Linked DNA regions of Homo sapiens: all the other regions are linked to region 3. The links are contacts of gene promoters, found by promoter capture Hi-C in blood cells and fetal thymus (Javierre and others, 2016). All regions are on one chromosome and are shown on one strand. The core of a region is centred on a gene start or on the middle of the fragment in contact, and the rest is flanking DNA. Distances in the headings are between cores, read along the strand shown.

What was found. The method cuts DNA at HindIII sites, captures the fragments that hold promoters and counts their contacts. A CHiCAGO score of 5 or more calls a contact.
Region 1: a fragment that was not itself captured here is called in contact with the fragment with the promoter of OR1A2 in region 3 in 3 of 17 cell types (M1 macrophages, endothelial precursors and M2 macrophages); the score reaches 9.2 in M1 macrophages.
Region 2: a fragment that was not itself captured here is called in contact with the fragment with the promoter of OR1A2 in region 3 in 3 of 17 cell types (M1 macrophages, M0 macrophages and M2 macrophages); the score reaches 6.0 in M1 macrophages.
Region 4: a fragment that was not itself captured here is called in contact with the fragment with the promoter of OR1A2 in region 3 in 6 of 17 cell types (M1 macrophages, M2 macrophages, M0 macrophages and 3 more); the score reaches 11.3 in M1 macrophages.
Region 5: a fragment that was not itself captured here is called in contact with the fragment with the promoter of OR1A2 in region 3 in 1 of 17 cell types (M1 macrophages); the score reaches 5.6 in M1 macrophages.
Region 6: the fragment with the promoter of OR1E1 here is called in contact with the fragment with the promoter of OR1A2 in region 3 in 6 of 17 cell types (M2 macrophages, M0 macrophages, M1 macrophages and 3 more); the score reaches 13.0 in M2 macrophages.

The regions. Positions count from the first base shown.
Region 1 is chr17:3,413,588-3,417,717 of GRCh38, reverse strand. All of the region lies in intron 2 of OR3A3 (olfactory receptor family 3 subfamily A member 3), which reads right to left. Among named protein-coding and RNA genes, the nearest start is that of OR3A3, 4.3 kb to the right of the region's middle. The HindIII fragment of the contact is 823 bases long and covers 1,251-2,073 here.
Region 2 is chr17:3,376,838-3,381,274 of GRCh38, reverse strand. The region is part of intron 1 of OR3A2 (olfactory receptor family 3 subfamily A member 2); the gene reads left to right. It also overlaps the pseudogene OR1AC1P. Among named protein-coding and RNA genes, the nearest start is that of OR1R1, 6.9 kb to the left of the region's middle. The HindIII fragment of the contact is 4,906 bases long and covers 1-4,437 here.
Region 3 is chr17:3,194,329-3,198,982 of GRCh38, reverse strand. It overlaps OR1A2 (olfactory receptor family 1 subfamily A member 2), which reads right to left and starts at 1,464. Exons shown (of 1, transcript NM_012352.3): 1 at 535-1,464. The coding sequence starts at 1,464. The coding sequence ends at 535. The HindIII fragment of the contact is 7,515 bases long and covers 1-4,654 here.
Region 4 is chr17:3,442,302-3,446,892 of GRCh38, reverse strand. It overlaps SPATA22 (spermatogenesis associated 22), which reads left to right. Exons shown (of 9, transcript NM_001170698.2): 7 at 292-421; 8 at 3,622-3,719. Among named protein-coding and RNA genes, the nearest start is that of OR1E2, 11 kb to the right of the region's middle. The HindIII fragment of the contact is 668 bases long and covers 1,583-2,250 here.
Region 5 is chr17:3,351,585-3,355,863 of GRCh38, reverse strand. The region is part of intron 1 of OR3A2 (olfactory receptor family 3 subfamily A member 2); the gene reads left to right. Among named protein-coding and RNA genes, the nearest start is that of OR1R1, 32 kb to the left of the region's middle. The HindIII fragment of the contact is 4,742 bases long and covers 1-3,621 here.
Region 6 is chr17:3,395,635-3,399,849 of GRCh38, reverse strand. OR1E1 (olfactory receptor family 1 subfamily E member 1) reads left to right here and starts at 1,440. Exons shown (of 1, transcript NM_003553.3): 1 at 1,440-2,746. The coding sequence starts at 1,440. The coding sequence ends at 2,384. The HindIII fragment of the contact is 11,538 bases long and covers 1-4,215 here.

The DNA of each region.
Region 1 (4,130 bases), core at 413-2,912, 220 kb before region 3:
CTTCCTATAAAATCTTCATAGAAGGAAAATGTAACCAAAGAATTTTCTATTAAGACAAACTGTAACTCAAATATACAAGCAACAGCCTAAAGTTTTTGGACACTCAAAAACTCAAGAATAGTTGTTCTATGAGCCCCATAGAATAAACTTCTAGAGGATAAACTTCAGCCAACAAAGAGAAGAGGAAGGAAAAAGAAAACAAAATAACTGGTAATAAGCACTGAATTTTTTTTACTGTAAGACGTATATGGGGATTGTGGTTTCAGAATAAAATATAAATGTTTGAACAATGACACTGTAGAAATCTAATAAAGTTAAGAGGAGAAGAAAGAACATGTAGAGATGGTGTAGGTATGCTGACTTCCTTAGTTGTCTTACAATTGTAAGTCAAAAGATATGTTCATGTTAATCAGCAAAAATGTTGAAATGAAAAGGCTTAACCCAATCATGAATTTAGAATAAGAAAACAAAAGAAATTTAAGAAAATCTAAAGGAATTCCATAGTAAAAAATTAGAAAATAGACAAACAAAAGAATGAATACAAATTGAGAACAGGTTGTTTGTGGTAAAATGAAATTGACAAACCTTAACTAAGTGATCTAATCGTGAGTAAAAGCAAAAAAGTATAAGCATGCAAAATAATAATTGACAGGGAGAAAATAAACATAGCCCAATAGAAAATTGAAAAATTCTAGTAGAGAATAGAATGGTGGTGATTGGAGGCTGGGAAGGGTGAGGGGAAGGAGTGATAAAGATAAATTGGTTAATGGGTACAAAAATACAGTTAAATAAAAGGAACAAGTTCTAGAATTTGATAGAGTATGGAGACTATAGTTAACAATAATTTATTGTATATTTCAAAATAGCCAGAAGAATTGGAATGTCCCCAACACAAAGACAAATGTTTGAGGTGATGGATATCCAAATTACCCTGATTTGATCCTTACACATTGTTTTATATATATATACACACATCACAGTGTACTCCCTAAATATATACAACTATTATATTTCAATAAAAATTATAAAATTCTATTTTTCTGAACTCCAAGTTATAAAAGTTTTCTATGAAGTTATGATTTATTAAAATAATTCTAGAACAGTTAGAAAATCTAAACAGACTACTATAGAAAAAGTAGAGAAAGAGCTAGCTTCCAATTGCCACTAATGAAAAGCAACATCTCCGTAAAATGCCACAGGGAAGTTTGTAATGACGATCAAACTATTCAAGAATATAAAAGAAGAAAGCTTCCATTTTTTTTTTGCGAAGTGTGCATAACTAGCTCAAAAGAAAAGAAAAAAATTTATGTTAAAGTAAAGAAAATATGAAATCATAAAAGATTAACAAATTTATTTCAGTAATTTTACCAAAATAATTAACCATAAGTATTTGGGATTTGGTCAGGAATGCCAGGTTAGTTCAAAATGAGAAAATGTATTAATATGTTTTATGATATTAACAGATGTAAAGGGAGATTATGTGATCCTTTCCATAGATGCTAAAAAGGCATTTGATTATATTAAATGTTCATTTTGATTTCTGAAATCTTATAATAAAATAGGAATAGTTAGGTACTTACCTAACATGTTAAAATAAAACTAAGTAGGCCAGGTGCAGTGGCTCACATCTGTAATCCCAGCACGTTGGGAGGCTGAGGCAGGTGGATCACTTGAGCTCAAGAGTTTGACAACAGCCTGGCCAGCATGGTGAAACCCCATCTCTATCAAAAATACAAAAATTAGCCAGGCGTGATGGTGCTCGCCTGTAATCCCAGCTACTTGGTATGCGGCTGAAACATGAGAATTGCTTAAACCTAGGAGGTGGAGGTTGTAGTGAGCCAAGATCGTGCCCCTTCACTCCAGCCTGGGTCTCAAATAATAATAATAATAATAATAATAATAATAATAATAATAATAATTTAAAAATAAGTAAATAAAAAATAAAATAAAACGAACTAAACTCCAAAGACAGCATCATGTTTAATAGAAAAACATTAAAAGCATTCTCAGTCAAGTCACTAATGAGACAAGTAAATTCATTATCAATTATTATTTAACATTGTTCTGAAAGCTTTAGCCAATGCAAGAAATTAAAAGACCATATATTAGAAAGCAATAAAACAGTTGTTGGTTTTTCTTTTCTTTTTTTTTTTTTTGAGTTGGAGTTTCGCTTTTGTCACCCAGGCTGGAGTGCAGTGGCATGATCTTGGCTCACTGCAACCTCCACCTCCCAGGTTCAAGCAATTCTCCTGCCTCATCCTCCCGAGTAGCTGGGACTACAGGCACCCGCCACCACGTCTGGCTAATTTTTGTATTTTTAGTAGAGATAGGGTTTCACCATGTTGACCAGGCTGGTCTCGAACTCCTGACCTCATGTGATCCGCCCGCCTCGGCCTCCCAAAGTGCTGGGATTACACGTGTGAGCCACCGAGCCCAGCTGGAAAACTCTTAAAAATATGAAAGTATAGGAAAATTTCAAGATAAAAAGTAAATATAAAAATAATATACGATAATATGTTGTTTTCTTATATATACCATAATAAACTAGAAAAAATAATTGTAAAAAATTCACATTAACAGAAATGACTTTAAAATCAAGCAAATTCTTGTGGTAAGATATTCAGTAAGTAAAAGGAAAGACAAAACTGTATACTTAAAATATGATCTCACTGTTACCACATACACATATAATAAACAGAAGGAAACTCTGAGCTATTGCAGTGGTTTTCAAAGAGTGGTAGTAATATAATGGGTTTTAGTGTTTTTCATTGGAGATTTTAAATGTTAACATATTACCTATATTATTTTTTTAATGATTATTAATATACTTTTTATGAATGATCGAATTATTCCCACCCTCTCAGTGGCTACGACTTGTAAATTTCAAAGTCCCTTGCCTTGCACGCTGCGGTAGTTGCTATCCACAGAAGAGCCTTGGGTGGGTTCTGGGAGTAGACAGCAGCTCTCCCAGGCTATTTTACTTCCTGTCAACCAAATTCCATTTCTGGTGATGAGCTATCTCCTGGCTTGCCAGTAAATGCCTTTTCTCTGACATCCTGAGGTGATTTGGGTCTTTTCTCCAGTTACCAAGAATGTGTCCAGTGGTCTCTGATCGCATTGCTGCTCCAATTGTCAAAGCACTATCAGATGGGTTTTGTGACTCTTAAAATCCTGAGATCGTTTCGGAGAATTCACACTACCTTCCTGCATCGTGTTTTTCTTTCTTTGTAAAGATGTTAGGAAATCCACCGGGCATTCATTCCTCGCTGATGCTCTATGAAAATGTACTGCAGTGAGTCTCAACCTCAGCTGCACAGTAGAAATATGTGGAGCTTCAAAAAAATCCTGGCCGGCCATGGTGGCTCACGCCTGTCATCCCAGCACTGTGGGAGGCCGAGGTGGGCGGATCATGAGGTCAGGAGATCGAGACCATCCTGGTTAACATGGTGAAACCCCGTCTCTACTGAAAATACAAAAAATTAGTCCGGTGCGGTGGCGGGCACCTGTAGTCCCAGCTACTCGGGTGGCTGAGGCAGGAGAATCGCTTGAACCCGGGAGGTGGAGGTTGCAGTGAGCTGAAATTGCGCCACTGCACTCCAGCCTGGGCGACTCCGTCTGAGACTCTGTCTCAAAAAAAAGAGTCAAGGTAGTCTCTAAAGACTGACCCGCAGTTTCATGTGGATAACGTGCATCTCACTGGAGTCTCTACAGCAAGAGGATGTCTCCAATGTGAGGCTGTCTCGATGACCAGCCTTCCAAATGAGGTCTCCACTGTGTGTGCTCAGGCCACGGGGAAGCTGCAGAGGGGATGCCACATGGATGAGAATGTGGATGCGGTAATCTCTAAGAGGTCCTTAAAGTTTTTTTTTTTTGTTTTTTGTTTTTTTGTTTTTTTTTGAGATGGAGTCTTGCTCTATCACCAGGCTGGAGTGCAGTGGCATGATTTTGATGATCTTGGCTCACTGCAACCTCCACCTCCCAGGTTCAAGTGATTCTCCTGCCTCAGCCTCCCGAGCAGCTGGGACTACAGGTGCCTGCCACCACGCCCGGCTAATTTTTGTATTTTTAGTAGAGACAGGGTTTCACCATGTTGACCAGGTTGGTCTCGAACAACTGACCTCATGATCCGC
Region 2 (4,437 bases), core at 795-3,294, 180 kb before region 3:
TGGTCACTTTTGGAGCGCACATTCAGATGCCCCAAGACACGGAAGTGCACAGGGATACACGCTTGCACACAGACACACACGGATGTATCCCGATATGTCCAGGCACACAGACATGCCAGAGACACGCACACCCACCGGGACAGGAATATATGAATATATGGGCACATACAAACACTCAGTCCCTTACACACAGACGTAGACACCTACAGAGATCCGTGCACTAGAGAAAAACATAAATCATATATGCCACATACACATGCAACACCCAACAAAGATGCCCTGCCCCCAAACAAATGCCAGAGACATAAAACCTCAATAGATGCTCCCAGACACACTGAGGCACACACGTGAATCTTACACGCAAACATCCACATACCGGTTCCCTCCTTCCTCTCGCTCTCTCTTGCCTCAAGTCCGCCTGCCTCAACAGAGTGGAGAGTGGGCAGTGGTAAACAGGGAAACCATCAGTGGCCCCCACGCTCTCAGGCCTGGGGGTTTCTATCCAATTCCTTAAATCCAGTCTCTCCTTGGCCAGCCCAGATTCTTCTCTTGATGGTGTGCCCAGTAGCTTTCTCTTTAACCACAGTCTTAGTCCTGGATGAGCCCTTTGTATTCCAAGGATCTCTTCTCCTCTACTTCCTTCTGCCAACTTCTTACTCATTTGTCTTCAATAATGTATTCAAACATCTTAACTGTTGTATCTACTCCATGCCAGGCAGGTACTTGAGCACTGGTGGGGGAGGCATTCGGAGATGAGTAAGACAAAGACAAAGAACTCACCATTCTATCCTGGTATCAGGCAGCTGGCAATGATTCCTAGATATCATTCCACCCAACACCCATGTCATAGACAGGGAAAGCAGCACCCGGAGAACTGTGTCTGCAGTCGCTCAGTAATCAGGGGATCAGTCAGAGTCCAGATCCTGGGCTCCGAACCCACCTATGGTTCATCCACTTCCCTGTGCTGCGTGCCACACGTTGGCAGGTCGTTCTCGTGTATTGCTCTCCCTCAGACGCTTGATTTACTCCCCTTCCCTTTCTGCCATGATTCTTCTGCTTCCTCCCAGCAAGTCTGCAAGCATTAACGAGCTCTGCCCTCCACAGCTCACCCACAGAGGCTAATCTGCTTCAGGCAAAGGGGGAGTTACAGCAGGTGTGCCCTGGAGAGGAAGATTGGCCTCAGCAGCCAAAGGCAGGAGGAGTGGCCTGCAGGCTGGGAGGAGAGGGGCCACCCACTAATTGATTAGCCTGGAAATTCTGTGGAGAGTTATGGTGGCCTCTGAAACCACTGGCCCCTTGAGGACTCCTCAGTCCTCAGCTAGTGCAGCCTCCCCTCCTCTCTTGTGCTAGAGAACTGAGTAGGAGAGGGGGCATCGAGGTGTGTGGGAAGCCAGAACTGAGGTAGATGCCTCTCAGTGTGGTGACTGGCTGTGCTGGTCTGCTGTGCTCAGAGGATGATGCTGTCACTCCCCTGCCCCTTCTATGCAGGATGGCATGTGAGGGACGGGGTGTGTTAGTGACCCTGGCCTCTTCTCCCTGGTTTTTCCCACCCTGAGCTACAACCATCACCCCTAAAGCTGCGACCTCACCATGTGATTCCTCTGCTCGGGGAAGAGCTCTTCCTCCTAATTCCACTGTGAGCAGTGAAGTGGAGCTGCGGGTGCCCTTCCCTGAGCTCCAGGCCTGCCTCAACCTCTGAGGTCCCACCTCACCCAGAACCTGGGGGAGGAGAGGAAGGGCTGGAATTGCCAGCAGATTTGCTCCAGGACAGTAGGTTCAGGGATCGTGGCAGCCGAGCCTCACACCCCATGTGGAGCTGTTCTTTGTGGACTTCAGGGTTGGCGCTCTCTGTTACTCCTTTGCTCAGGTTGGAGTTGTGGGGATCTCAGCCTTGTCCAGCTGGTGTCAGAGCAAAATGACTTCTGTTCCTTGTTCTGAAGCCTTTTGACTGTCGTGTCCTCATTGGCCTCGGCAGAGTAGCCCTCCTGGATCTGGAGGGGCCAACCTAACTTCCCAGGCTGGACCAGTTTCTCCTGAGGACAGTCTTGTTCTCTCATCTTTCCTTTCTCTACCTGGGCCATATGCCTTTTAGTTCTTGTGGAACTGATAGTCACGTCCCATGGAATGAACTTCTCTAGCTTGACTATTCATTCACTTGATAATATTTACTCAGCATATGGGGTCCCAGCCTTGTTGATCTCTGAGGAGTGTCAGAGAAGTTGTGGAATGAGTGAGATATTCAAGTCCCCACTAGCTTTTGACCCTAGGTGAGGCATTTCTCCCCTGTGAGTCTCAGCTTTCTCCCTGGTAAATTGAGAGGAGTAAACTGATGATTCTTTCATGTTTGAGGGTATAAAGTTTTGAGGATGCACATTTCATAGTTAACAGGTTGCGGGGAGAAGACTTGGGCACAGCAAGTTACAGTGCTTGGCAATAAGTGCCCTAGGTACTGAAATGAAACTGCACCTGTGGCTTGAGTGTTCAGGGAGAACTTCCGGGGGGAAGTGGTATTTAAACAAGAAGAAAAGTGGAAGGATTTGGGCATGTGGGAAGTACCTGGGAACCATAGTTTATGCAGAAGTGATAGTGGTGGCCCATCTGGAGCAGCTGCTGCGGGGATGCCAGCTGCAGCAGGGGAGGTGCGGCCAGGGCTGCGTGCTCGGTGGAGCTGGCAGGGGCTGGGAAGAGGTGGGAGCCCCACCCCCTACCAAGTTGGTGAGGCAGGAGCCCCACACTCCTAGGCGCAGCTGCAGCTGCCCAGCCGTGGCTCTGGACCCAAGCATCCCTGCACTCTTAGGGGTCCAGGAAGCCCCCTGCCCCCACGGGCTTGAAAGTGCCTGCTCTGCTCTGGCCTCTCCCTACTCCTGGCACCTGCTCCAGGGCAGAGCAAAGTTGTGGCCGAGCCTGGGCATTGTTGCAACCCAGCCAGGTGTGCACACACTCAGGGGGCTGACGTGCCAGCCCCCTGCTGCCTCTGCCCCCTCCAGACTTTGGACACCAAAGAGTGTGGGAGGGGAGTCTGGGGAGGGCGGTGTGAGGGCAGCTTGGCATGGGCCTACAGATGCCTCTCAGTGTGGACAGCCTGGGTACCACAGACAGCATGTAAAAGGCAGACAGGTTCCTAGGTGGGAAGGGGCAGGTCCTGGTGAAACCCCACCTTCAAGCCAGGGATGGCCTGAAGCCTGGGGGCCAGGCTGCCGGTTCCAGGTGAAGTCAGCAGCCTGGTGTGCGAACCTCATTGATGACCATTCAGCCAATCAGATGGTGCTTTCATTTCTCCTTGTTATGTTTTCATTTCTCCTTGTTATGTTTTCATTTCTCCTTGTTATATACCTAGGAACAGAACTGCTGGGTCAAAAGGTGGTTATATGTCTCACTTTCTTAGAAACTGATAAATAGTTTTCCAAAATGGTCAGACTAGTTTACATCCCCTTTGGAATATTTGAGAGTTCCAATTTCTCGACATTCTTGTCAACACCTGGTATTATCAATTTTTAATTTTAGCCTTTCTACTGGCCCTGTCATACTGGATTATATCATCTTTTTCTTTATCTGTATGGTCTCAGCTATCCTCAGAGTCTTCTTTTCCCCAGAGAAGTGCCTGCAGCCCTCACCTTGGTGTCATCTCCCTGGTCAATGGAACAGCTTGGTAGAGGAGACTCAGCAGCCCCCGTGCTGTACGTAGTAGTCATGGCCATGCCAAACCCATTCATCTAAAGCCCGAGGAACAAACGCCTGAAGGAGTCTTCGGGGATAAATCTCAGGGCCAAAATGGTCTCTTCCACTTACAGTCTCAGTGAGGTAGGCAAAGAATGTGGGCCCATTAAGGAAGAGAGAGAATAAAGCTAATAAAATAAGCAACAATAATAATGATAGCAGCTACCCTTTATTGAACACCTACCAGACATTGCCTTTATTGCTTATATATTGTCATTTAATATTCCTAACAGCTTCATGAAGTAGGGCATTATTATTTTCATTTTATAAATGACCAAACTGAGGCTGGGAAATGCTAGGAAAATGGCGGTTAGGAGACGGGACTAACATGCAGCTCCCCCTTGGTTGGACAGAACACCGTGTGGAGACTCACATTGTGAACTTTCTCTACAAGAATCACTACAGGAAGATACAAGCAAAACCAAAAGAATTCACATACCCTTTGAAAGAAGCAGCTTGCCGCTGCAAACTCTGCAAGGCAGCTGAAAAACTGAGTTTTCAATGTGTGAGAGGGAGAAAAGTCTGCCTCCAAACCCACATCCCCACTAGGGAACCTGAAAATCAGATCATGGGAGAGAAGGATTTAACCTTACCTAGAGCTAAAGCAGATTTAAGGAACCGAGCAAAATATAAAAGTAGAAGAAGCAATAGAAAGAGCCCTGTAGGCACCCCTGGTCTCCAGTCCAAGCCCAGGGAAGCCATCCCTGGCCTTATCTCACA
Region 3 (4,654 bases), core at 215-2,714:
AACTAATATTTTTATACATTTTCCTGCTTTCCACCAATATTTTATATGATCAAAATACTAAAAAAGTAAGTGATATGTTAACACAGCTTTTGCCACCAGAGTACAAGTATAGTAGGGGTGGCTAGACATAAAAGTCCAGTAAAGATTACATTAGAATAGTAATTTGCAGCCTTCAAAGCATGAGCCATTTTGATATACACAAGCTGTGTCAGAGAGTCCGGCAGATATTATTTTCCTAACATGTAGATATGCAAGCTGAGACTCAGACTTTTTCAACTTTACTCTGCTAGTAAATTTCTGCTAACTGGGACATGAACCTGATATTCCCAGCCTGCCACTCTCTCAAAAAAGAGCAGGAATTTGTCCAAAGTGATAATTTCAATAAAATATCACATCCGTTACAAGATTTCTGGTAGAGGAATTTCTGGCTCAAAAGAACAAAAGGAGCTTCTTGAAGGGCAATGACATTGGAGCTGGATTTCCAAGTGTATCCCACTTGGTCATTACAGTATCCAGCGTGTAATCTCACAGCGGCTATGAGGAGATTCTCTTGCTGAAGAGTTTCTGTAGGGCTGCCTTCATATCCCAATTTCTCAGACTATAGATGAAAGGATTTAATGCTGGGGTCACTGCCACATACATCACAGTTATCACTGCATCTTTGGGGCTGTAACTGGTCAGAGGGCGGAAATACATGCCCATCGTTGTACCATAATATAAAAAAACAACTGTGAGGTGGGAGCCACAGGTGCAGAAGGCTTTGAATAGACTCTTGGTAGATGGAACTTGGAAGACTGTGGAAAAGACCTGAACATAGGAGACAATGATGCATAGTAATGGCAAAGAGAAAACGCCGACCCCTAGGTACATCATCTTCACATTAAAGTGGACGTCAGAACAGGACAACTTCAGCAAAGGCATAATGTCACAGTAGAAATTGGCTACTTCCTGGTTGCCACAGAAGGACAAACTAGCTGTGAGCAGAGTGTGGGGGAGAGCACTGGTGTTTCCAATCACCCAAGACCCAGCAATAAGCAGGATACAAGACCGTGGACTCATAATTGTTGTGTAATGAAGTGGGCAGCTGATGGCCACAGCTCGATCGTATGCCATTGCAGCCAAGGTATAGCTGTCTGCCTTGGCCAAGGCTATCATGAAATACATCTGCATTAGGCATCCCCCAAAGGAGATGAACTTGCTCCCCAAGAGATGGTTGGCCAGCACCTTAGGGATGGTTACGGATGAGAAGATGATGTCAACCAAGGAGAGGTTGGCAAGGAGAAAATACATGGGGTTGTGAAGGCGAATGTCAGCACAGATGGCCAAGATGATGAGCAGATTTCCAGTCAGTGTGATGGGGTAAATGCACAAAAAAATCACAAAGAAGACATTATTCTGTTCTTGCTGACTAGTAACTCCCAGGAGAATAAAATCCAGGTTAAAGGATTGATTTTCTTTCTTCATGGCTTCTTCAGCATGAAAGGGGAGAGGAACCCAGAATTATTAGCGCAGTTAGTGTGTGTTATAGTCTGCCTTATCTACCACTTAAACGTTTTTAATTATTTTACAAATTCACCTGCTGTCAAACTTATCCACCACTTTTCATTAGCCATGGCTATACCTGGTTTTTACAATCATAAATATAGCCAGCACTTTTGGGTAAAATCTCTGTTGGTCAATGGGACGAACTCTCATTGACCTCCTGGACACTCATGTCAAAGAAGTTAGCGATCTGTGAAGTAAAGATGGTTGTCCTTCCAAATGTAGCACCACCACCTTAATATCTATAATTTAATCACATAACAAAAACCTAATTTCATGTTTCATGTCTTAGATTTTTTTTTACTTTGTAGAGAAACAATAAATATGTGAAAATACAGTTATTCATCCACTTATTTGTTACACAAGACATAGCATCTGTTCTCAAGGACCTTATAATTGAATAGGAAAGCCAGACTCACACAATAATTTTATTACACATGGTAAGAAAAGGATAGCCTCTTGGAGTCCTTGTGAAAAAAACAAACAAAAAATCCTCCAGTGCAAAGGATGTATCATAGTAGGAATGCAGTGAACAATTTAAAGTTGTTCCTCCAACCAGTCTCGGGGTGAGCCCAGAGCCCAGGAAGTCAGAGGTGTCTACACTGCCATCAGATTCTAAAACAGAAAGACAACTGGCATTAGGTCCTAGAAAAACAAGCTCAGTGAACTTACTCCACAGGTGTTCGATTTTCAAAGATATTCCCTATCTTTTTGACAGCTTTTCTCTCTTTTCAAAGCCCATAACTATACATAATCACAGTGCTTTTTCCACTGGCCTTTGTCTTGGTTCATTTTGTGTTGCTATAACAGAATACTTGAGACTGGGGAATTTATAAGAAAAGAGGTTGAATTGTCTCATGGATCTGTAGGCTGGGACATTCAAGAGCGTGGCCCTGGCTTCTGGCAAGGGCTTTCTTGCTGCATCATAACCTGTCAGAGAAGGTCAACAGGGAAGTGGATACAGGGGAAGAGAGAAAACCCGAGAAGTATACTGGTTTTATCACAACCCACTCCTGTAGGAACATTCCCTTAAGATTAATCCAGTCTTGAGAGAATGAGAACACACTTACTACCATGAGAACAGCACCAGACCACTCATGAGGGATCCACCCCCTTGACTCAAACGCTTCCCACTAGGCTTTACCTCCCAACACCTCCCACACTGGGGATCACATTTCAACATGAGTTTTGGTGAGGGCAAACTCAATCCATAGCAGTCTTCTCTTCCTTGTCTTCCTTATTTCTTTTTGTAGTAATCCAAGTCCACAGTGGATTCAACTATTCTTTAGTAAACTGTCATGTCTGTATCTGTGGTCTCGATTTCTTTTTCCCATATTTCCATATTCAGTCATCCTGCTAACATGTCTGACCAAACCCCACACTCTGCACTTAAAACCTAAGTAGTTTGCAAGATGTTTCTTTTCTTTTTTTTTTTTTTTTTTTGAGACAGAGTCTCACTCTGTTGCCCAGGCTGGAGTGCAGTGGCGAGATCTCAGCTCACTGCAAGCTCCACCTCCTGGGTTCACGCCATTCTCCTGCCTCAGCCTCCCGAGTAGCTGGGACTACAGGCACGCGCCACCATGCCTGGCTAATTTTTTGTGTTTTTAGTAGAGACGGGGTTTCACGTGTTAGCCAGGATGGTCTCGATCTCCTGACCTTGTGACCTGCCCACCTCGGCCTCCCAAAGTGCTGGGATTACAGGTGCAAGATGTTTTTGAAGAGGAAAATCATAACTTGTTTATGTTTATGTCTTCCAAATTGATTTTTGTAAAATATCATTCATTTTGTGCACCAATTAATTTGCACTCAATTATTGAGTTGAACCCAGGTTTATTTCATGGTTCCCCACATGTGGGATTCTCACAGAAACACTCATCCAGTTTATCTTCTGCCTGTACGTCTGACCTTGTTGAATCTTCATTTGAAAAAATTGTTATATAACTCAACTTTTCTCTTTACTTACCTAAGCTAAATTACCCTTTACTAATTTAGCTTAGACCATCATCATTTTCAACTTAAGTATTGTAGTAGTCCCTTAACTGCTTCACTACAGTTCCCTCTTCTTTGATCCATCTTGCATTTTGAGATCATACTAATTGTCGTAGAGACTACCAGCTGCTCACCTAAATCTGCGTTGCTGTCTTCCTCGTGGACACTCTATTAGACTACATTTCCCAGCCTCCCTTGCAATGAGGTGTGGTAAGGTAACTTCATTTTACCAACTGAGTTCTACTCATTGAGCTCCTCCATACCCTTTTTCTCCTTGTCCCAACTGAATGCAAATGGTGAAGAGGCTGAATGTGATGATGGAGTTGCATGGTGAAATGAGCCTATGTCCCTAGCTCTCCATATCCAGCAGAGCCACTCATGACCAAGAGGGCCCACTATGACCATTAGAGAAAAAGAAATTCTTATTTGTTTAAACAATTACTTTTATTTTTTTAAAACACTTTTTTTTTTTTGAGATGGAGTCTTGCTCTGTCACCAGGCTGGAGTGCAGTGGTGCCATCTTGGCTCACTGCAACCTCCACCTCCCAGGTTCAAGTGGTTCTCCTGCCTCAGCCTCCCGAGTAGCTGAGACTACAGGCCTCTGCCACCACACCCATCTAATTTTTGTATTTTTAGTGGAGACAGGGTTTCACCATATTGGCCCGGCTGGTCTCGAACTCCTGACCTTGTGATCCACCTGCCTCGACCTCCCAAAGTGCTGAGATTACAGGTATGAGCCACTATGCCCAGCCTAAACATTTTCTGATGTATTTGTTACTGTAGCCCAATATATCCTAACTTTTTTTCTTAAAACACTTTGCTGAATAGTTAATCCGATCTATAATTAATTCAATCATCAATTCCTGGTGTCTCATATAGTATACATGTGAAGTACATGCTAAGCCCTGGGTATGCAGGTCTAATTATCTTATCCCCAAACATGATGTGTTCTTTCATCTTTGCACCTAAAGTCACTTGGCTTTCTGTCTTGAAATGCCCTTTCTCATCTTCACACAGAATCATAATACCTCAGGTTTCAAAGGATTCAGTAATTTTGGAGGGCTCAGAGACATTATTAGCTCCTATGATACGGAAGTGTAAGATTTCAGACAGAGGAGAACTC
Region 4 (4,591 bases), core at 667-3,166, 250 kb before region 3:
TGTCACAGGATCTGGCATATGATGCTTTAAAATAGTCAATGAATGAATGAGTGAATGAATACCTATATAAATAATTCTCCTCTTGATTGTCTCTAAGTGCACCCTGGTTTCTCCATCTGTAATATAGTATTGATGGCCTTATTTTAGGGAAGTAACTATACTAAAATTTTCAGTAGTTCTTTTTACACACTTGTCCATTGTAAGGACTTAGAATTTTTACGTAGAAGGTAAACGAGTATGATGAAAAAAACAAATATTTTTCTAATACTATGTTTCTTATTTTTTCAAAAGGAAACCTCATTGTATCAGTTACAGTTTAAGGAAAAAGCTAGTTCTTTAAGAATTATTTCTGCAGTTATTGAAAGCATGAAGTATTGGCGTGAACATGCACAGAAAACTGTACTTCTTTTTGAAGTATTAGGTAGGTAAAATACTTTAAAAATACTTCAGTAATACTCTCTGGAGGACAGGTTTTAATGTCTGATTAGTCCTTTTTCTTCCAAATAAAACAGTCTGCTTTTTGCTACTCCCTAAAGTGTATTCAAAGAACTGGTTTTAATAATAGTCCCTGTGGTAGATAGAATAATGCTCCCTAAAAATGTCTACATTCTAATTACCAGAATAATGCACCCTAAAATGCCTACATTCTAATTACCAAAACCTGTGAATGCTACCTTATATGGCAAAAGAGACTTTGCAGATGTAATTAAGTTAGGGATCTTGAAATGGGAAGATTATCTTGTATTATTTGGGTGGGTTCAATGTAATCACAAGGGTCCCTTATACAAGGAAAGCATTGAAAGATGCTACCTTGCTGGCTTTGAAGATGGAGGAAGGGGCCATGAGCCAAAGAATGCAGGCATCTTTGAGAAGTTGGAAAAATTAAGGAAATAGATTTTACTCTAGAGCCTCCAAAAGGAACATGGCTTTGATGACTCATTATAGACTTCTGACCTCCGTAACTATTAAGATAATGCTTTTGTGTTGTTTTAAGCCAACCACTAAGTTTGTGGTAATTTGTAAGCAGCAATGGGAAACTGATACAGCCTCCTCCTTTTCCTTTTGTCCTGTTATATATATATATGTAAATATAAATGTGTGTATATATAGATGTAGATTTCTATCAGTGCAGTCATTTCACATGTTTAACTTTCACCTAAAAATGATTCCAGTTTCTCTCTTGTTACCATTAAGGAAAAAGCTTTATTATATAAAGTGACATTGGATTCAATAGAGACTCAGACTTTGAGTAAAGCACGCTGTATTCATTTTCAATTGCTGCGTAACAAAGTAATGGAAACTTAGCAGCTAAAAACCACACCCACTTCTTAACTCAAGTTTTGTAGATCAGAAGTCCATGTGGGCTTGACTGCGTTCTATACTCAGGGTATCACAGTGCTAAAATCAAGGTGTTGGCTGGGCTGGTTTTGTTCAGTTTTCGTTTTTGGCTTTTTGGAGGTTTCCATGCCTCTGGCCTCTGGAACTCCCATATACTTCAGGGATTCTTTATCAAGTCCTACTCATGTTGCTTGAAGCATATCTCTTAGCTGGTTGGCATGACTGTTACTACTCTGTTGAAGCTTGACTTAGCTCTTATTTTGTTCAGTTCTTACCAGTAGCCACGTAACTGCAATAGCAGATGGTATTCTATTTCATGTCAGTTTTCTGTCAGAGCTAGAATACTGTCAGAGGTAGAACATCTTATTTCAAAGATCTTAACCCCTGTTGGACTTCCCACTAAATTGCTTTTTCCTGTGTGAAAGATGCCTTTGGCTCTCACCTCATTTACAGAATATAAATATTAAAATAACCTGAGCCTATTAAAAGGACATGCTGATTCCATTCATTTCCCCAGGTTCTCTTTGGTGAGTTGTTCAGGTTCACTCCAGAATAATCCTTTTAAGAATATCACAATACTCATTATAAACACCAATAGACATTCTTATCAAGAAATGAAGGGGGTCCATGCTTTTATATGTGATGGTTAGCTTTCATAGTGCTATAATAATCCTGAGTTCCTAGGCTAGACTCTAAACTTATCAAAGGTAGATACTTCATTTTACTACACTTTAGTGTCTAGCACACTGCACTGTATATAGGAAGTATCTTCCAGTTGCAAGCACCCCCCAGAAAAAAACAACTTTAGTGGATTTTAAATACTCATTTATATTGCTATGTATAATATTGTGTTGCATAGAGAATTATTCACGCAACTGAAAAGTGGCTAGGTTTCTGACTTCAGGCAAAGCTTGATCTAGCTGCTCAAGAGATGGCACAGTGATTTCTCTCCATCCTTCTGGCCAGTCATAACGTTGGCTTCATCTTAAGGCTCCACACTATAGTCTCTCCAGAAGCTTCTGACTCTCTCCTTATGGTAGCAAGTTGATTATTAAATTTTTGTAGACTATACATTCTTATACCACACCGTCATATTCTTAGATTTTTCTTCTGATTGCTCTTTCCTACAAACTAACAAATGAGTCTTTGCATATAACCATTTCTGACTTGGTAACATGCCTATTGCAGAAACCCTGAACTACGTAGTTGAGTAATAAAATATGCTGATTGGATTAAGTCAGTCACAGTTCACTCGTGGATCTGGGGATGGGGACAAATCCTATCCAAATAATATGGCTAAAAATGGAATTTTCCTGAAGGATAATCTGGGTCTTTTTAGCAGAAATGGAGGCCAGCCTCAAAATAACAAATGCCCACTACCAGTACTCAGTAGATGGTTATTAAATAAATGAATAATGCTGTCACTTCATAATAGTTTCTTGAGATAAACATGAATTACAATTTGCGTTTTATAGGTGAAGAAACAGATTTGAAAGTGGTTAAACAATTTACTCAAGGAGGAGGGAATAGGGAGATGTAGGTCAAAGGGTACAAACTTGCAATTATGTAGGATGAGTAAGTCTAGAGACTTAATGCACAGAGGAGGTCTATAGTTAATATTATTGTATTGTATATTAAAATTTTGGTAAGAGTAGATTGTAGGTGCTCTTACACACACAAAGGATAACTATGGAAGGTGTTGGGTATGTTAACTTGCTCACTGTAGAAATGATTTCACTATATATAGGTATATGAAAATATATTGTATGTATATGAAAATATGTTGTATACCTTAAATGTATATAATAAAAATAAATTTAATACCCAGTTTGCTCAAAGTCACAAAATATTAGTAAGTTGAAGTACCTGGGACCTGAATGCATGTCTCCTGATTCTAATTCAATGTTTCTTTTTTCATTAAATTATGATGCTTATTTGTTACACATGTGCATTTTATTATTATAATGTTGTAGACTGTTCTGGGGATTTAACCACTCTGTACTACACATTCTAAGGAAAAAGTTTCAGATGGCCATTTATTGTCAATTGTATGAGCTTGGCATATAATCTGTTCCTAAGTTGGAGAGAGTCAGAAGTTTTGTTTTCCTACCTATAAAACTGCCTGAGAAATATCTTCTCTTCTTAAAATGTCTTCTTTATTGCTATATAAATAGCACTATGAGAGGTTGATATGGATAGTTATTTAAACATCAGCTTCTCTTTGTTAAATTTTATTTGCAGTTTACCAACATTCATTTTTTCCCCCATTTCAATATTGCTTAGCTGTTCTTGATTCAGCTGTTACACCTGGCCCATATTATTCGAAGACTTTTCTTATGAGGGATGGGAAAAATACTCTGCCTTGTGTCTTTTATGAAATCGTGAGTATTTTTAAAGTACTCTTTGCGAAGCCTATGTCAACAGAATATAAACATGCAGGCTATAATTCAGTTGAAATATAAATTCTGTTAACAATTTAGTACTTTTAACACTGGTTTTAGTTCTGATATGAAAGTTGTTTATTTTTATAATATAGAGAGCCTACTACGTGCTAGGTACTGTGCTGGGTTTGAGGGATATAAAGTGGAATGTAAATGGCAAATGGCTCTTTCTCTCAGAGTTTGTAATCCCAGGTAGAATGGTACAGAAATGTTACACTGTGATATGGTGAATGGCTTGGTGGAGCTAGGTATGTGCAGGGTGCTAGAGAAGTAGGTAAGAAGGAAGGGGCAGATCAGGGAAAGATTTTCAAAGAAGGTGGTAACTTATCCTAGATCTTTAAGGACTAATAAGAATCAACTAAGCCAAAATGTGTTGGGGAGGGAAAGAAGGATATAGTCTAAGGTGAGGGAGCAGCATATGCAAAGACTTGAAGCTAAGAGAGAGCTTCACTTGTTCAGGGAACTGAAAGTAGTTATAATTACCAAAGTGAAGAGTTAGGAACTGTTAGGGGTAAGGGTAGTGGTTCTGAAAGTGGGGGAAAGCATAGTGGGCTGGGATATAAGGAGGCTTGGTGACATAGAAGTGTGGAGATTGCAAAGGAGGCTATAGACCTACACACATTGAGGCTGTATAAGAGCTACATAAACTTTGTAAAAGTTTGACCTTAATTCTGACATTGGCCTCAATTCTGAAATCAGACTTGGATTCCAGCATTTACTCCAACATTTTCTAGTTTTATGACTTAAGAAAGCTGCTTAAATTACTTGAACTTCAGATTTTTAAAAAATATAAAATGGGGAGACAAATTCCT
Region 5 (4,279 bases), core at 1-2,500, 160 kb before region 3:
GAAAACAAATAACAAAAAGGCAGGAGTAAGTCCCTACTTAATAATAACTTTGAATATAAATGAACTAAACTCTCCAACCAAAAGACAGAGTGGCTGAGTGGATGAATACATGAGACCCAGTGATCTCTTGCTTACAGTAAACACACTTCACCTATAAATATGCACACAGACTGAAAATAATAGATGGAAAAAGATTCCATGCCAATGAAAACCAAAAAAGAGCAGAAGTAGCTATACTTACATTAGACAAAATAGATGTCCAGACAAAAACTGCAAGAGAAAAAGAAGGGCATTATATAATGGTAAAGGGGTCAATTCAGCAACAGGATATAATGATTGCAAATATATATGTACGCAGCACTGTAGTACCCAGATATATAAAGCAAACATTATTAGAGCTAAAGAGAGAGAGAGAGAGAGAGAGAGAGAGAGAGAAATGCCAACATGATAATAGTGGGAGACTTCAATACCCCACTTTCAGTGCTGGACAGATCTTCCAGACAGACAATCAACAAAAAATGATAGGACTTAATCTTCACCATGGAACAAATAGACCTAATAGATATTTACAGAACATTTCATCCAAAGGCTGCAGAATACACATTCTTTTCCTCAGCACATGGATCATTCTCAATGATAGTCCATATATTAGGTCACAAAACAAATGATAAAACATTCAAAAAATTGAAATAATATCAAGCATCTTCTCTGACCACAATGGAATAAAAGTAGAAATCAATAATAAGAAGAATTTTGGAAACTATGTGAACTATATGGAACTATAATAAGAATAATTTTGGAACTATATGAACACATTAGACATTACACAGTACACTCCTGAATGACCAGTGGGCCAATAACAACATTGAGAAGGAATAAAAATTTATTGAAACAAATGATAATGCAAACACAACATACCAAAACCTATGGGATAGAGCAAAAGCAATACTAAGAGGGAAATTTATAGGTATAAATGCCTACCTCAAAACAGAAGAAAAACTTCAAATAAATAGCCTAATGATGCATCTTAAAGAACAAGAAAAGCAAGAGCAAACCTACCCCAAAATTAGTAAAAGAAGGGAGGTAATAAAGATCATCGCAGAAATAAGAGAATTTGAAATGAAGAAAATAATATAAAAGATCAGTGAAATAAAACATTGGTTTTGTGAAAAGATAAACAATATGGCCAAACCTTTAGCCAGACTAAGAAAAAAAGAGAGAAGACCAAATAAATAAAATCGGAGATGAAGAAAGACTCATTGCTACTGATACCACGGAACTTTGAAGGATCATTAGTGACTACTATTAGCAACCATATGCCAATAAATTCAAAAATCTAGACACATACAACCTACCAAGATCAAACCATAAAGAAATCCAAAATACAAATAGACCAATAATAATAATGAGATGAAAGTCATAATAAAAGGTCTCCTATAAATAAAAACCTTTACTTTTCTTTAGGTTGAGGCTACAGTGTACCATGATTATACCACTGCACTGCACACTGGGTGACAGAGCAAAACCTTTCTCAAAAAAGAGGAAAAGAAAAGCACAGGACGCAATGGCTTCACTGCTGAATTCTAGCAAATATTTAAAAACTAATACAAATCCTATTCAAACTGTTCCAAAAAATAGAGGAGGAGGAAATGTTACAAACATTCTTTGAGGCCAGTATTACTCTGATACCAAAAACAGACACAGACACATTAAAAACAACAACAACAACTACAGGCCAGTATCTCTGATGAATACTGGTGCAGAAATCTTCAACAAAATGCTAGCCAATCAAATTTAACAATACATTTAAAAAAATTACTCATCATAACTAAGTGAGATTTATCCCAGGGATGCAAAGATGGTGCAAAATGTGCAAATAAATCAATGTGATACCCTTCCCAGCATCTGATAACCATGGAGCTGGGAATGGTTAATGGGTACAAAAAAAAATGGATGAATAAGAACCACTATTTGATAGCACAGTGGGGTGACTATAGTCAATAATAACTTAATGGTATATTTTAAAATAACAATATAATTGGATTGTTTGTAACTTGAAACATAAGTGCTTGAGGTGATGGACACCCTATTTTCCATGATGTGCTTATTTCACTTTGCACGCCTGTATCAAAACAACTCATGTACCCTATAAATATATACCTATCATGTACCCACAAGAAATTTAAAATAATAAAATTTAAAAATCAATGTGATGCATCATATCAACAGAATGCCATATGAACAGTTCAATTGATGCTGAAAAATCATTTGATAAAATCCAACATCCCTTTATGATAAAAACCCTCAAAAACCTGGATATAGAAGGAGAATACCTCAACATAATGAAAGCCATGTATATGACAGATCCACAGCTATGAATAGTATCATACTGAATTAGGAAAAACTGAAAGCCTTTCCTCTAAGATCCAGAATACAGCGAGAATGTCCACTTTCACTATTGTTATTCAACATAGTACTGGAAGTCCTAGCTAGAACAGTTAGACAAGAGAAACATATAAAAGGACATCCAAATTGGAAAAGAAGAAGTCAGATTACCCCTGTTGATATGATTTTGTATTTGGGAAAACCTAAAGACTCTACCAATTAGAACTATTGGGCAAAGATTCAGGGAAAGCATTCTCTAATTCACTGTTGCTGAAACATAAATTGTTATGGCATTTTTGGAAAGCAACCTGGCAACACTTATTAAAATTAACCTAGATATACCCTTCAAAAAAAAAAAAAGAACTTATAAGCAAATTCAGTAAAGTTGCAGGATACAGCATCAACATAAAAAAAGTAGCATATCTATATGCTAACAGTGAACAATCTGAAAAGGAAATAAAAAATGTAATCCCCTATACAGTAGCCACAAATAAAAATACCTAGGAATTAACCCAAGAAAAAGATCTCTACAATGAAAAACTGTAAAACACTGATAAAAGAAATTGAACAGGACACCAGAAATGGAAAGATATTGCATGTTTATGGATTGGAAAAATCGATATTGGTAAAATGCCCATACTACCCAAAGTGACCTACAGATTCAATGCAATCCTTATCAAAATACCAATGACATTCTTCACAGAAATAGAAAAAAATCCTAAAATTTATATGAAATCACAAAAGACCCAGATTAGCCAAAGCTATCCTGAAGCAAAAAGAACAAAACTGGAAGAATTATGTTACCTTACTTCAAATTATACTACAGAGCTATAGTAACCAAAACAGCATGGTACTGGCATAGAAACAGACATATAAACCAATGGAACATAATAGAGAACTCAGAAACAAACACTCCTACAGTGAACTCATTTTTGACAAAGATGCAAGATATACACTGGGGAAAAGACAGTCTCTTTAACAAATGGTGTTGGGAAAACTGGATATCCATAGTCAGAAGAATAAAACTAGACCCCTGTCTCTCATCATAAATAAAAATCAAATCAAAATGGATTAAAGACTTAAATCGAAGACCTCAAACTATGAAACTACTAAAACAAAACATTGGGGTAACTCTTCAGGACATTGGTCTGTGCAAAAATGTTTTAAGTAATATTCCACAAGCAGAGGCAACCAAAGCAAAAATGGACAAATGAGATCACATCAAGTTAAAAAGCTTCTACACAGCAGAGGAAGCAATCAACAAAGTGAAGAGACAGCCCACAGAATGGGAGAAAATATTTGCAAACTACCCATCTGGCAAAGGATTAATAACCAGAATATATGAGGAGCTCAGCAACTCTATAGGAAAAAAATCTAATCCTGATTAAAAAATGGGCAAAAGATTAGAATAGATATTTCTCACAAGAAGACATACAATCCATCTTGAATTGATTTTTGTATAAGGTGTAAGGAAGGGATCCAGTTTCAGCTTTCTACATATGGCTAGCCAGTTTTCCCAGCACCATTTATTAAGTAGGGAATCCTTTCCCCATTGCTTGGTTTTCTCAGGTTTGTCAAAGATCAGATAGTTGTAGATATGCGGTGTTATTTCTGAGGGCTCTGTTCTGTTCCATTGATCTATATCTCTGTTTTGGTACCAGTACCATGCTGTCTTGGTTACTGTAGCCTTGCAGTATAGTTGGAAGTCAGGTAGTGTGATGCCTCCAGCTTTGTTCTTTTGGCTTAGGATTGACTTGGTGATGCGGGCTCTTTTTTGGTTCCATATGAACTTTAAAGTAGTTTTTTCCAATTCTGTGAAGAAAGTCATTGGTAGCTTGATGGGGATGGCATTGAATCTATAAATTACCTTGGGCAGTATGGCCATTTTCACGAT
Region 6 (4,215 bases), core at 191-2,690, 200 kb before region 3:
ATTTAATCACAAGAGAGGGATGATCAGATTTTCATCTCAGAATGCCACAGTGTAAATGAAGATTGTTGGAAGAGAAGGTTGTTGAAACACAGGGGCAGGAAGATGAATTGAGAAGCAGTTTCAATAGTCCAGGTAATACAAGATTTCCACCTGGTTTAGGGTTGTGGTAGTTGGGATAAGGAGTGGATGAATTAGAAAGAGAATGAAGTGCAGAATCTGTAGGACTTGCTAGATTGGATATTGACTGTGAGAGAAATGAATTAATGAAATCAAACCTTAGGTTTCTGACTTGAGCCTGGATTCCATTCACCAAACATGAGAGAGTGGAGGAGGATGGAGTTAGAAGAGGAGCAGGGTGAGATCAGAATGTCATTTAGGATCTGTCAAGCCAAAGATGCCTGTGATCCATCCAAGAGATGTTAATCATTGAGACTCAGGATACTAAGTTCTGTATACTAGAGAACGCTACACCTGAACACCTGAGTTGTTTGTTTGTTTCTTTCTTTCTTTCTCTTTCTTTCTTTCTTTCTTTCTTTCTTTCTTTCTTTCTTTCTTTCTCTTTCTTTCTTTCTTTCTTCCTTTCCTTTCCTTCCTTCCTTCCTTCCTTCCTTCCTTCCTTCCTTCCTTCCTTCCTTCCTTCTTTCTTTCTTTCTTTCTTTCTTTCTTTCTTTCTTTCTTTCTTTCTTTTCTTTCTTTGACAGAGTCTTACTCTGTCACCCAGGTTGGAGTACAATGGCACAAACTTGGCTCACTGCAGCCTCTGCCTCCCAGGTTCAAGCAATTCTCCTGCCTCAGCCTCCTGAGTAGCTGAATTACAGGCACCCGCCACCACACCAGGCTAATTTTTGTATTTTTAGTAGAGACAAGGTTTCACCATGTTGGCCAGGCCGGTCTCAAACTCCTAGCCTCAGGTGATCCACCCACCTCAGCCTCCCAAAATGTTGGAATTACAGGTGTGAGCTACTGCGCCCAGCCTACACCTGAGTTTTAAATGGCAATTAAAGCCATTGGAGTAGATGTGTTTTTATTGGCCATTATGCAGAATTATAAAAAAAAAATGAAGTTTAGAAAAATCCCTGAGGAATATCAACATGTAAGATACTGACAGAGGAGGAGCCAACTGCAGTTACTGGTGAGGCAGGTAAGAGAGAAACCAACACACTTTATGTTTCAGAAGTAAATAGATGAGTATTTTAGAAAGGATGGAATATTGTTACATGTTAAAGATAAATGAAGAGAAAAAAGATAAAGTTAAGTCATTTCTGATTATAGAGATTCTAATTATAGATATTTGTGGTATAGAGATGATTATTATAATGTCAGTTAAATAATTTTCGCAGAACACTCAGCAGACCAAGTGTCACAGAAATATCTCCATTTTAAAATTCAGATTTTAAAGGATACTGTTGTTTTTCCATTAAAGATACTGGAGACAGAGCATGATGGGACAAAATCAAACCAGCATCTCAGACTTCCTGCTCCTGGGCCTGCCCATCCAACCAGAGCAGCAAAACCTGTGCTATGCCCTGTTCTTGGCCATGTATCTTACCACCCTCCTGGGGAACCTCCTCATCATTGTCCTCATTCGACTGGACTCCCATCTCCACACGCCTATGTATTTGTTTCTCAGCAACTTGTCCTTCTCTGACCTCTGCTTCTCTTCCGTGACCATTCCCAAGTTGTTACAGAACATGCAGAACCAGGACCCATCCATCCCCTATGCGGACTGCCTGACCCAAATGTACTTCTTCCTGTTATTTGGAGACCTGGAGAGCTTCCTCCTTGTGGCCATGGCCTATGACCGCTATGTGGCCATCTGCTTCCCCCTGCACTACACCGCCATCATGAGCCCCATGCTCTGTCTCGCCCTGGTGGCGCTGTCCTGGGTGCTGACCACCTTCCATGCCATGTTACACACTTTACTCATGGCCAGGTTGTGTTTTTGTGCAGACAATGTGATCCCCCACTTTTTCTGTGATATGTCTGCTCTGCTGAAGCTGGCCTTCTCTGACACTCGAGTTAATGAATGGGTGATATTTATCATGGGAGGGCTCATTCTTGTCATCCCATTCCTACTCATCCTTGGGTCCTATGCAAGAATTGTCTCCTCCATCCTCAAGGTCCCTTCTTCTAAGGGTATCTGCAAGGCCTTCTCTACTTGTGGCTCCCACCTGTCTGTGGTGTCACTGTTCTATGGAACCGTTATTGGTCTCTACTTATGCTCATCAGCTAATAGTTCTACTCTAAAGGACACTGTCATGGCTATGATGTACACTGTGGTGACCCCCATGCTGAACCCCTTCATCTACAGCCTGAGGAACAGAGACATGAAGGGAGCCCTGAGCAGAGTCATTCATCAGAAGAAAACTTTCTTCTCTCTCTGATGATAACACTTGGAGCTATTACATAGTTTATCCAGTAAAATATTGATATTAATATTGGAATATTATTCTAAATTATTTCCTCACCATCCTTTTGTTGAAATGGCATCGTACATAATTTTTCAATATGTAGTGGAGATGAAGCATAGCTGAGTAGTTGAACTAGGGAAGAGGGTCTTGGTGACCTGGCTAAGACTTCCTGTTTGTCTTCCCAAGGTGATCTTGGAAAAATGTAGTTTAAGAACAACTGTTTTAAATGGTCTTCATGCCCCACATTCTTAAATTATCACAGGATTTTGTTATGTTACTCAGAATTTTGCTTTGATTGTAGAATCATTTTTGTTTAATTAAAAAAATTTTTAAATTTTTTGTTTATTTTTATTTTCTATTTCGCACAGGGTCTCACTCTGTTGCCCAGGCTGGAGTGCAGTGGCACAATCGTGGCTCACTGTAACCTCAACCTTCTGGACTCAAGGGATTCTCCTGCCTCAGCCTCCCAAGTAGCTAGGACTACAGGCATGCACCACTACGCCCAGCTAATTTTAAGATTTTTTTGTAGAGATGAGGTCTCCCTAAGTTTCTCAGGCTGGTCTTGAATTCCTGGCCTCAAGTGATCCTCCCACCTTGGACTTTCAAAGTGCTGGGATTACAGGTGTGAGGCACCATGCCTGGCTTGTGGAATCATTTTATTTTTATTTATTTATTTATTTATTTATGAGACTGAGTCTTGCTCTGTCACCCAGGCTGGAGTGCAATGGCATGATCTTGGCTCACTGCAACCCCCGCCTCCTGGGTTCAAGCAATTCTCCTGCCTCAGCCTCCCGAGTAGCTGGGATTACAGGCAAATGCCACCACGTCGGGCTAATTTTTATATTTTTAGAGATGGGGTTTCACCATGTTGGCCAGGCAGGTCTTGAACTCCTGACCTTGTGATCCGCTCACCTAGGCCTTCCAAAGTGCATGGATAGAATCATTTCTAAATAGTGCTCTATAATCTTAGGTTAGTGCTAAATAAGATCTAAACAGCTTAACCTCCCAGCCGCCCTTTGAGTGTCTCCTACATATTCTCCCTGCACAAATTTTCACACCATTTTACCTCTTCTCCCTCCTCCTGATTTATTTTCACATCTCCATAGACTTTTCTCACCTGGTCTGACCTTCAATACATTTTTCTAACACTTTTACTACAACGGTGTATTTCGTCTTTACCTGGAATTAACTAATACCCTGAGGCCCTAAAATTTATTTCACCAGGAAAGAAGCTAGTTGCTGGTAAATTTAAAAAAGCTCAGTTTTAAGGAATGTCTATCTTCTGGCCAGGCGTGATGGCTCACACCTGTAATCCCAGCACTTTGGGAGGCTGAGGCAGGTGGATCACAAGGTCAGGAGATCAAGACCATCCTGGCTAACACGGTAAAACCCTGTCTCTACTAAAAATACAAAAAAATAGCCGGGCGTGGTGGCGGGCACCTGTATCCCAGCTACTCGGGAGGCTGAGGCAGGAGAATGGCGTGAACCTGGGAGGCGGAGCTTGCAGTGAGCCCAGATTGCGCCACTGCACTCGAGCCTGGGTGACAGAGCAAGACTCCTTCTCAAAAATAAATAAATAAAATAAAATAAATAAAAAGAATGTCTCTCTTCTGTTTGGTATTTTGGATGTTACAAAATAACTTCATATTTCTATTTGTATTTTACCCTCATGACAGATCCCAGGAAGTAGAGAAGATGCTAACACTGTGTTACATGCTGAAAAGTACGTAGCTCAGCAACTTTCTACATCACACAGTGTGTCAATTGTTGAGCTTTTATAAAATTCCAGACTATCTGATTCTGC